Regions from separate parts of the Homo sapiens genome. Here all the other regions are linked to region 3. Evidence: promoter capture Hi-C in human tissues and cell types (Jung and others, 2019). All regions are on one chromosome and are shown on one strand. Each heading gives the region's core, a stretch centred on a gene start or on the middle of the fragment in contact. The rest is flanking DNA. Distances are from core to core; before and after follow the strand shown. Region 1 has its middle 210 kb from the start of LINC01994. Region 2 overlaps SOX2-OT (SOX2 overlapping transcript). Region 3 holds the start of SOX2 (SRY-box transcription factor 2).

Region 1 (2,811 bases), core at 62-2,561, 560 kb after region 3:
TTTTATTCAGTGTGTTCCTGAATTACTGGCCTAAAAATTACTGCCCTACCCCAAGAACATAACATAGAACTAGTCCCTTGATGTCTACTCTGCGGAAGCCAAACAGATAAGCTCTTCTTCTTTGGTAGGGCCTGTCCTCTGGTCTCCCCTGTCCCATGAAGGAAGGTGAGGAAAGATAGGTTAGGATGCATGAGTCCAATCAACACAAAAGAGAGCAAATCCCTTAGGACAACCACCAAGAAAAATCAAAGAAGAGATATCACCTAGCAACTTCTTATAGAACAGATGAGCTGCTCCTATGTTAGTTTTCAAAAAGTCACTAATAATTACATTGGACCTCCAATCAACTATTAACACTAGTAAGAACAGGAAAGAGGAAGAAAGAATGAACTAATAGTTTTTAGGCATTTATTTTATGTTAGGCATTAGGCTTTACATGTATCATTTTACTTGATTTGCCTAACATTTCTTTAAGGGAGGCATTATTCTAGACAAATAAATTGAGGCACAGAAAAATTATGTAACTTGTCTTCTGAGGTTTACATATGTTTAAATTTTTTAGAAAACTCAGAAAACTAGAAATCCTAAAGGACGTCATTTAGAGTTTTGCATTCCTTGAGGATCCTTACAACTAATGATTTGAAAACTCATCCTATACTTTTTCAGAGAATAGAATGTAAGTCATTCTACAAGCATTCAAAAAAATTGAGTGTCAGGAATTCTAAAGGGTGTTCACTTGTTTGATGCATTTTTAATGTATATAGAACATGGAAGAGTGAATTACCCATAATAAAACTTGTTCATTCACCTTTTTTTTTTTTTTTTTTTTTTTTTTTTTTTTTGGTTCTTAGATGGAGAAAATAAGTAGAAGGACTCAGGGTAGTGAAATGTAAAAACCACTTGTATAAGCTTCCACCCATGGAGACACTCTAGAAAAGAGTAAGAGGAAAATCGCCTCTCAAGGAAATGTCACTGTCACAGGAGAAATGAAAAAATACCCTCTGGCCTGGAGTCAGGAAAACTGGGTTCGAGCCCATTGACTCTTTTAACTTCCTGTGTGACCTCAGGCAAATCTCTCCACTTCCCTGAGCCTCAGTTTTCTCATCTATTAAAAAAAAAGGAATTGAGCCCTAGGTTGTCCTTGCCATGCTACTTTTTAATTCCAACACACTATTACTCCCTGAGAGGTAATATTAATAGCTATGTCCTGGTTCGGCTATTTATGCCAAAGTGGTTTAGGTCAGTGGTTCTCAAACTTTAGGGAATCGACTGGAGGACATGTTGAAACTCAGATTGCTGGGCTGCTGCCCCGCAGTTTCCAAAACAGTAGGTCTGGGGTGGGGGCTCTGAATTTATATTTCTAAGTTCTCAGGTGATATCGATGCTACTGGTGGAACCACACTTTGAGAACCACTGATTCAGGACTTGAAGGCTTTTCAGTAGATTAAAGATAAATGTAAGAACCTATCAAGGTCAATTCATTCTAGTAGGCTACCGACTGCACTTTTTTTTTTTTTTTTTTTTTTAGACAGAGTCTCGCTCAGTCGCCCAGGCTGGAGTGCAGTGGCGAGATCTCGGCTCACCGCAGGCTCCGCCTCCTGGGTTCAGGCCATTTTCCTGCCTCAGCCTCCTGAGTAGCTGGGACTACAGGCGCCCACCACCACACCCGGCTAATTTTTTTGTATTTTTTTAGTAGAGACGGGGTTTCACCGTGTGAGCCAGGATGGTCGCGATCTCCTGACCTCGTGATCCGCCCTCCTCAGCCTCCCAAAGTGCTGGGATTACAGGTGTGAGCCACTGTGCCTGGCCACTGAGTGCATTTTTAAGTTAACCTAAAATATTCTAAAAATATCAGACTGGATGTCAGAGCTGGGGGAAACTCCTCTGATCGGGAAGAAACATATTTTCCTATATTCTAGAAAGGTATCCTCTAAAAGATGGGTGGCTATGTTTGCCTTGGATATATCTTTCTGGACCTATTCTACCAGACACTTTTGAGACTGTTTAAAAATTAACAAAATCAGCTGGGCCAACATGGTGAAACCCTGTCACTACAAAAAAGTGCAAAAATTAGCCGGGCATGGTGGCATGACACCTGTAATCCCAGCTACTCGGGGGGCTGTGGCAGGAGGATTGCTTGAACCTGGGAGGTGGAGGTTGCAGTGAGCTGAGATTGCACCACTGCACTCCAGCCTGGGCGACAGAGAGAGACTCCATCTCAAAAAAAAAAAAAAATTAACAAAATCACATTTGTGCAGAAGTGGGATGAGTGTATTCAGGCACTGGCTCTGGTCAGGCTTCTAAGTTTGGGGAGCCATAAGCCAAACCTCTCCTTCTCTGTCTAGGTTCTGACCTACCCCAGCGACCTACCACAGACAAATTCCTGAAGTCAATATCACACAGTGGAGTCAGGCTGCCTACTTTCTATTCCTTAATACCTAACAACTATTCCACCTTTAACCTCTCATACCTCTTTATCTCATCTGTAAAAATGAAAATGTTAGCCTCATAGGATTGTCATGAGGATTAAATGAAATAATACACCTTAAGCACTTAGAATCTCTGGCACACAGTACATGCTCAATAAACGCTAAGTTGTTATTTCACTCCTTACCAGAGAATATAACCTTAAACTATCTACTCTCCACCTCTGAACAAATGTACAAGTATGACATAATCAAGGAAAATATTCAAGGACAGGTCAAGAAAAGAGCATCAAGGATGGGCTGCCCATCCATTTCCCTAAATCAAGCCATCATCACAAAGGCTACATGCTTAGACCACACTTTGTTTTGGGGGCTGGGAGTCCCC
Region 2 (3,154 bases), core at 265-2,764, 520 kb before region 3:
CAGCCTGGTCTGGAGGTGGATGGGGATGGTTCAGAAGAGGTTCTTGGAAGAAGTAGTGCTCAACCAGATTCTGAATAATGAACAGTGTTGGCCAGGTAAAGAGATGGCAGAGCAGGAAGAATATTCTAGGAAGTGAGAACAATGTGCAGAATTCTGAAGGTGAGAAAGTGACCCACTCAGAATATGTTGTACAGTGAGAGGAGAGGAGTGGGGAAAAATGAAGATGGAGAGAAAAGCAAAGTCCAGATCATGATGTCTGTATATCCTGCTGAGGAGTGTCGTATTTATTCTAAGGATCATAGGGAGCAATGGGAGTGTTATGAACAGGAGTGACATAGACATTAGTGTTTATTATTAGGTTGAAAGATCACCTTAGTTATATAATCACAGCGAAGTGAAGTGGGAGCAGGGATGGAAATAGAAGGCAGGGTTTGGTCAGGAGGCTTGTACAGTCATCTAGTAAAGACATAATGGTGCCTTGAGATGAGGAAAATGGGTAGATATGGGGGAGATGTAAGGGGTGGAATTAATGGAATATGATGATCATCTATTGGGAATGAGAGAGATGGAACACTGAGAGAACACTGAGAGAGAAGGACTCTTGGGTCTGTTCCAGGCCATGTGAAAGAAGGTGGCACCATTTAGTGAGAGAGGACAGGGAAGAGTGGTATGTTTGTGGGTACATCATTGAGTTCAACTTTGAATGTGTTGACTTGAAATGAATATGTAAAAGAAGGTAGGGCAGTCCCACTTCCGTTTTGTTGTTGTTGTTGTTGTTGTTTTTGTTGTTGTTTGTGTGTTTTTTGTTTTTGAGAGGGAGTCTTGCTCTGTCGCCCAGGCTGGAGTGCAGTGGTGTGATCTCAGCTCACTGCAACCTCTGCCTCCTGGGTTCAAGTGATTCTCCTGCCTCAGCCTCCCAAGTAGCTGGGATTACAGGCACGTGCCACCACGCCCAGCTGATTTTTGTATTTTTAGTAGAGATGGGGTTTCACCATATTGGCCAGGCCGGTCTCAACCTCCTGACCCCAGGTGATCTGCCCGCCTCGGCATCCCAAAGTGTTGGGATTATAGGTGTGACCCACTGCACCTGGTCTCCACTCCTGTTTTGGGTAGTTGTTAAGGGATGTTTCTTATAGGCCAATTATAGAAGTAGTATCAAGAAATCTCCTCAGCATTACTTTTATATTTTAGAACTATTTCCCAAAGAAAAGCTGACTACTCATAAAAATACAGTTGAAGCTTGGGCAGGGGCTTTGTTTCAGTTCTGTCCAAGTTGGAAATGAAAAGGTGCATGGGTGAGCAGGTTCAGCTGGCATTGGAATTTCACTGCCATGAATTGCCAGTGGGCCATCTGATCCATCTCCTTGAAGGAGCAGACAGGCTAGGTACTGTGGTGCCTAGGCAGGCTGAGTAATTAGAAATATAATCAAGGTAAAAACTGAAGTTAAGGGATGTGTTGAGGTGGTGACAGAGAGAGGTAATCTAGAGAGGAGAATCTGAATGTGTTACAAAAGGGAAGGAGTAAAGCAAGTAATATGAGCTGGATTACCAAGCAAGAGACTTGCAGATTCAGAGACCTAAAGCAGAGAGGAATGGGTTGGGTTTGTAAGCAAGAGAGCTGCCCTTTTCCCTTGCTTTCTCAGGAGATTGAGGCTGTCTCAGAGATTGAGGCTGATGCTAGAGGCTGTCTTTTGGGCATTCTTAGAGGCATGGTGCTTGCTGCAGTCATGAAGTCAGCAATGGGGCAGATACCTGTGTTTAAGTCCTTAGGTCCCCTTTAAGCCTGGAAACTCTTCAATTTCGGGGGTATTTTTAGTATTAGAAAGTTATGTCTGACTGCCGCTTCTGTGGGTGAATTACTTGCTTAGGATTTTGAGATAGGGAAGGATGGGTAGAGCGAGGACCTATCGGATGTGTAGGCAAAGCTGGTGGCCAAACTCTAAAGAAGAGCTAAGCATGGGCCTTCTAGGAAACTTCAGGGTTGTGGGAATCCTTCTGTGAGAGGTTGAGAGTAAAGGTTTGGTGTGGGCCTTCGGTGACAGCAGAAACTTCTTGATGTGGCCCTCTGTGAAGTTTCAAGAAGGTGGTCTCTTGGGTTGCCGGCCCTAGTAGGGGACTTTATTAGCATTTCTCTTGGAGAAAACTTGGTTGGGTAAAAGCACTGAACTTCTGTGATGGGTATTAGAATGCAAAGCTTTCCTTTGTTCATTTATTTGACTATGGAATTCTGTTTTTTGTGAAGCAATTTAAGGGCCCAGTTTTCTACAAAACACACTTTCCATGTATATGTATGTAACAAACATGCACGTTGTACACATGTACCCTAAAACTTAAAGTATAAAAAAAGTCTCATTTAGCTCAAAAAAAAAAAAAGAAGTGCTGTATTCAAAAATAGAGTTATTACTGAAGATCTTGAATCATTGGCAATCTAAAAATGTTTTGGATGCAGAATGTCTTAAGCAAAATGTGCAGTATGAATTGCATATGTGATATCACTGACTGACCAACTGGAAGTTGGAGAGGAAAGTTACCCACGTAACCAAATAACCACAATTGTTGAAAATACTCTTTTGAGAAATAGTATTAGACGATGTAAATCTCAGTATGTTATTGATTGTATAGATATTGTTAGTGATATCTGGGGGCAAGGAGGACCTTTTTAAAATTTTTTTAATTAAAAAAAAATTTTTCTGAGATGGAACCTTTCTCTGTTGCCCAGGCTGTAGTGCAGTGGTGCCATCTTGGCTCACTGCAACCTCCACCTCCCGGGTTCAAGCGATTCTTCTGCCTCAGCTTCCCGAGTATCTGGGAATACAGGCGCCCACCATCATGCCTGGCTAATTTTTGTATTTTTAGTAGAGACAGGGTTTCGCCATGTTGACTCGGCTGGTCTCCAGCTTCTGGCCTCAGGTGATCCACCCGCCTTGGCCTCCCAAAGTGCTAAGATTACAGGCATGAGCCACCGCACCTGGCCGTAAATTCTTTTTCTAATTCTAAATGGCTTTAACATATCTTAAGCTTTTACCATTATAGTCATTGTAGGTTATTATCATTCTAGATAAAAATACCATCATAATTACCCATACCAAAACACCTGTTAATATACCATCTTAAAATATTCTCTCATTTTATTAGCTTGGTTAGTAGCCAGAAG
Region 3 (2,780 bases), core at 70-2,569:
CCCCTACCCCCGCCCCCATCTCATCCTCCTCTAACCCGGGCCTTGCTGGGCTCCCCCTTCCCCAGTCCCGGCCGCCTTCTCCCAGTGTGCGCTGCCTGCACCTGTGCCTGGAGAGCATCGACCCCGCCTCCCAGGCCTTGAGCCCCTTTGCGGCGCAGCCCCAGCCTTGCGCGGCCTGGGCTTTGCGGCCACCACAATGGAAATCTACGGGGAAAATGCCAGGGCTGGTTCTGCTGGAGTCCTGGGAACTCTGCGTGGGAGGGAGTTTGTGACTGCGGCCCAAAAGCCACCTCCATACAGTGCCGTGGGATGCCAGGAAGTTGAAATCACCCTCCCCCATCGCCTGCACTTTTGAGCGCCCTTCCGTCTGTGTCTTTCCCCAGCCCCCATTTGAAAGCCGCACGACCGAAACCCTTCTTACGGGGAGGCATGGGATGGGAATGGGGAGTGGGGGCAGACAGTAGAAGCATCCCCTTTGCTACGGTTGAATGAAGACAGTCTAGTGGGAGATGTGGCTGGGGCTAAGAGGAAGAGCTGCAGTTTCCTGGGCCAAAGAGCTGAGTTGGACAGGGAGATGGCAGCTTACCAAGGCCTGCTGGTTCTCAGCTCTAGAGTCTGCCTTATGGTCCGAGCAGGATTTATTTTTAAGAACAGAGCAAGTTACGTGGAAGCAAGGAAGGTTTTGAGGACAGAGGTTTGGGTCTCCTAACTTCTAGTCGGGACTGTGAGAAGGGCGTGAGAGAGTGTTGGCACCTGTAAGGTAAGAGAGGAGAGCGGAAGAGCGCAGTACGGGAGCGGCACCAGAGGGGCTGGAGTTGGGGGGGAGTGCTGTGGATGAGCGGGAGAACAATGACACACCAACTCCTGCACTGGCTGTTTCCAGAAATACGAGTTGGACAGCCGCCCTGAGCCACCCACTGTGCCCTGCCCCACCCCCGCACCTTAGCTGCTTCCCGCGTCCCATCCTCATTTAAGTACCCTGCACCAAAAAGTAAATCAATATTAAGTTTAAAGAAAAAAAAACCCACGTAGTCTTAGTGCTGTTTACCCACTTCCTTCGAAAAGGCGTGTGGTGTGACCTGTTGCTGCGAGAGGGGATACAAAGGTTTCTCAGTGGCTGGCAGGCTGGCTCTGGGAGCCTCCTCCCCCTCCTCGCCTGCCCCCTCCTCCCCCGGCCTCCCCCGCGCGGCCGGCGGCGCGGGAGGCCCCGCCCCCTTTCATGCAAAACCCGGCAGCGAGGCTGGGCTCGAGTGGAGGAGCCGCCGCGCGCTGATTGGTCGCTAGAAACCCATTTATTCCCTGACAGCCCCCGTCACATGGATGGTTGTCTATTAACTTGTTCAAAAAAGTATCAGGAGTTGTCAAGGCAGAGAAGAGAGTGTTTGCAAAAGGGGGAAAGTAGTTTGCTGCCTCTTTAAGACTAGGACTGAGAGAAAGAAGAGGAGAGAGAAAGAAAGGGAGAGAAGTTTGAGCCCCAGGCTTAAGCCTTTCCAAAAAATAATAATAACAATCATCGGCGGCGGCAGGATCGGCCAGAGGAGGAGGGAAGCGCTTTTTTTGATCCTGATTCCAGTTTGCCTCTCTCTTTTTTTCCCCCAAATTATTCTTCGCCTGATTTTCCTCGCGGAGCCCTGCGCTCCCGACACCCCCGCCCGCCTCCCCTCCTCCTCTCCCCCCGCCCGCGGGCCCCCCAAAGTCCCGGCCGGGCCGAGGGTCGGCGGCCGCCGGCGGGCCGGGCCCGCGCACAGCGCCCGCATGTACAACATGATGGAGACGGAGCTGAAGCCGCCGGGCCCGCAGCAAACTTCGGGGGGCGGCGGCGGCAACTCCACCGCGGCGGCGGCCGGCGGCAACCAGAAAAACAGCCCGGACCGCGTCAAGCGGCCCATGAATGCCTTCATGGTGTGGTCCCGCGGGCAGCGGCGCAAGATGGCCCAGGAGAACCCCAAGATGCACAACTCGGAGATCAGCAAGCGCCTGGGCGCCGAGTGGAAACTTTTGTCGGAGACGGAGAAGCGGCCGTTCATCGACGAGGCTAAGCGGCTGCGAGCGCTGCACATGAAGGAGCACCCGGATTATAAATACCGGCCCCGGCGGAAAACCAAGACGCTCATGAAGAAGGATAAGTACACGCTGCCCGGCGGGCTGCTGGCCCCCGGCGGCAATAGCATGGCGAGCGGGGTCGGGGTGGGCGCCGGCCTGGGCGCGGGCGTGAACCAGCGCATGGACAGTTACGCGCACATGAACGGCTGGAGCAACGGCAGCTACAGCATGATGCAGGACCAGCTGGGCTACCCGCAGCACCCGGGCCTCAATGCGCACGGCGCAGCGCAGATGCAGCCCATGCACCGCTACGACGTGAGCGCCCTGCAGTACAACTCCATGACCAGCTCGCAGACCTACATGAACGGCTCGCCCACCTACAGCATGTCCTACTCGCAGCAGGGCACCCCTGGCATGGCTCTTGGCTCCATGGGTTCGGTGGTCAAGTCCGAGGCCAGCTCCAGCCCCCCTGTGGTTACCTCTTCCTCCCACTCCAGGGCGCCCTGCCAGGCCGGGGACCTCCGGGACATGATCAGCATGTATCTCCCCGGCGCCGAGGTGCCGGAACCCGCCGCCCCCAGCAGACTTCACATGTCCCAGCACTACCAGAGCGGCCCGGTGCCCGGCACGGCCATTAACGGCACACTGCCCCTCTCACACATGTGAGGGCCGGACAGCGAACTGGAGGGGGGAGAAATTTTCAAAGAAAAACGAGGGAAATGGGAGGGGTGCAAAAG

The links. The method cuts DNA at HindIII sites, captures the fragments that hold promoters and counts their contacts. A contact is called where the count stands out against the background at its distance.
Region 1: a contact is called between a fragment that was not itself captured here and the fragment with the promoter of SOX2 in region 3, in 1 of the 25 tissues and cell types used here (lymphoblastoid cells).
Region 2: a contact is called between a fragment that was not itself captured here and the fragment with the promoter of SOX2 in region 3, in 1 of the 25 tissues and cell types used here (dorsolateral prefrontal cortex).

The regions. Positions count from the first base shown.
Region 1 is chr3:182,272,687-182,275,497 of GRCh38, forward strand. No RefSeq gene overlaps it. Among named protein-coding and RNA genes, the nearest start is that of LINC01994, 210 kb to the right of the region's middle. The HindIII fragment of the contact is 3,228 bases long and covers 1-2,811 here.
Region 2 is chr3:181,192,322-181,195,475 of GRCh38, forward strand. All of the region lies in intron 3 of SOX2-OT (SOX2 overlapping transcript), which reads left to right. Among named protein-coding and RNA genes, the nearest start is that of SOX2-OT, 140 kb to the left of the region's middle. The HindIII fragment of the contact is 3,772 bases long and covers 1-3,154 here.
Region 3 is chr3:181,710,606-181,713,385 of GRCh38, forward strand. SOX2 (SRY-box transcription factor 2) reads left to right here and starts at 1,320. Exons shown (of 1, transcript NM_003106.4): 1 at 1,320-2,780. The coding sequence starts at 1,756. The coding sequence ends at 2,709. The region is part of intron 6 of SOX2-OT (SOX2 overlapping transcript); the gene reads left to right. RefSeq lists enhancers at 1-602, 603-1,455, 1,456-2,309, 2,310-2,780, a promoter at 548-1,581 and a silencer at 1,161-1,220. The HindIII fragment of the contact is 19,833 bases long and covers 1-2,780 here.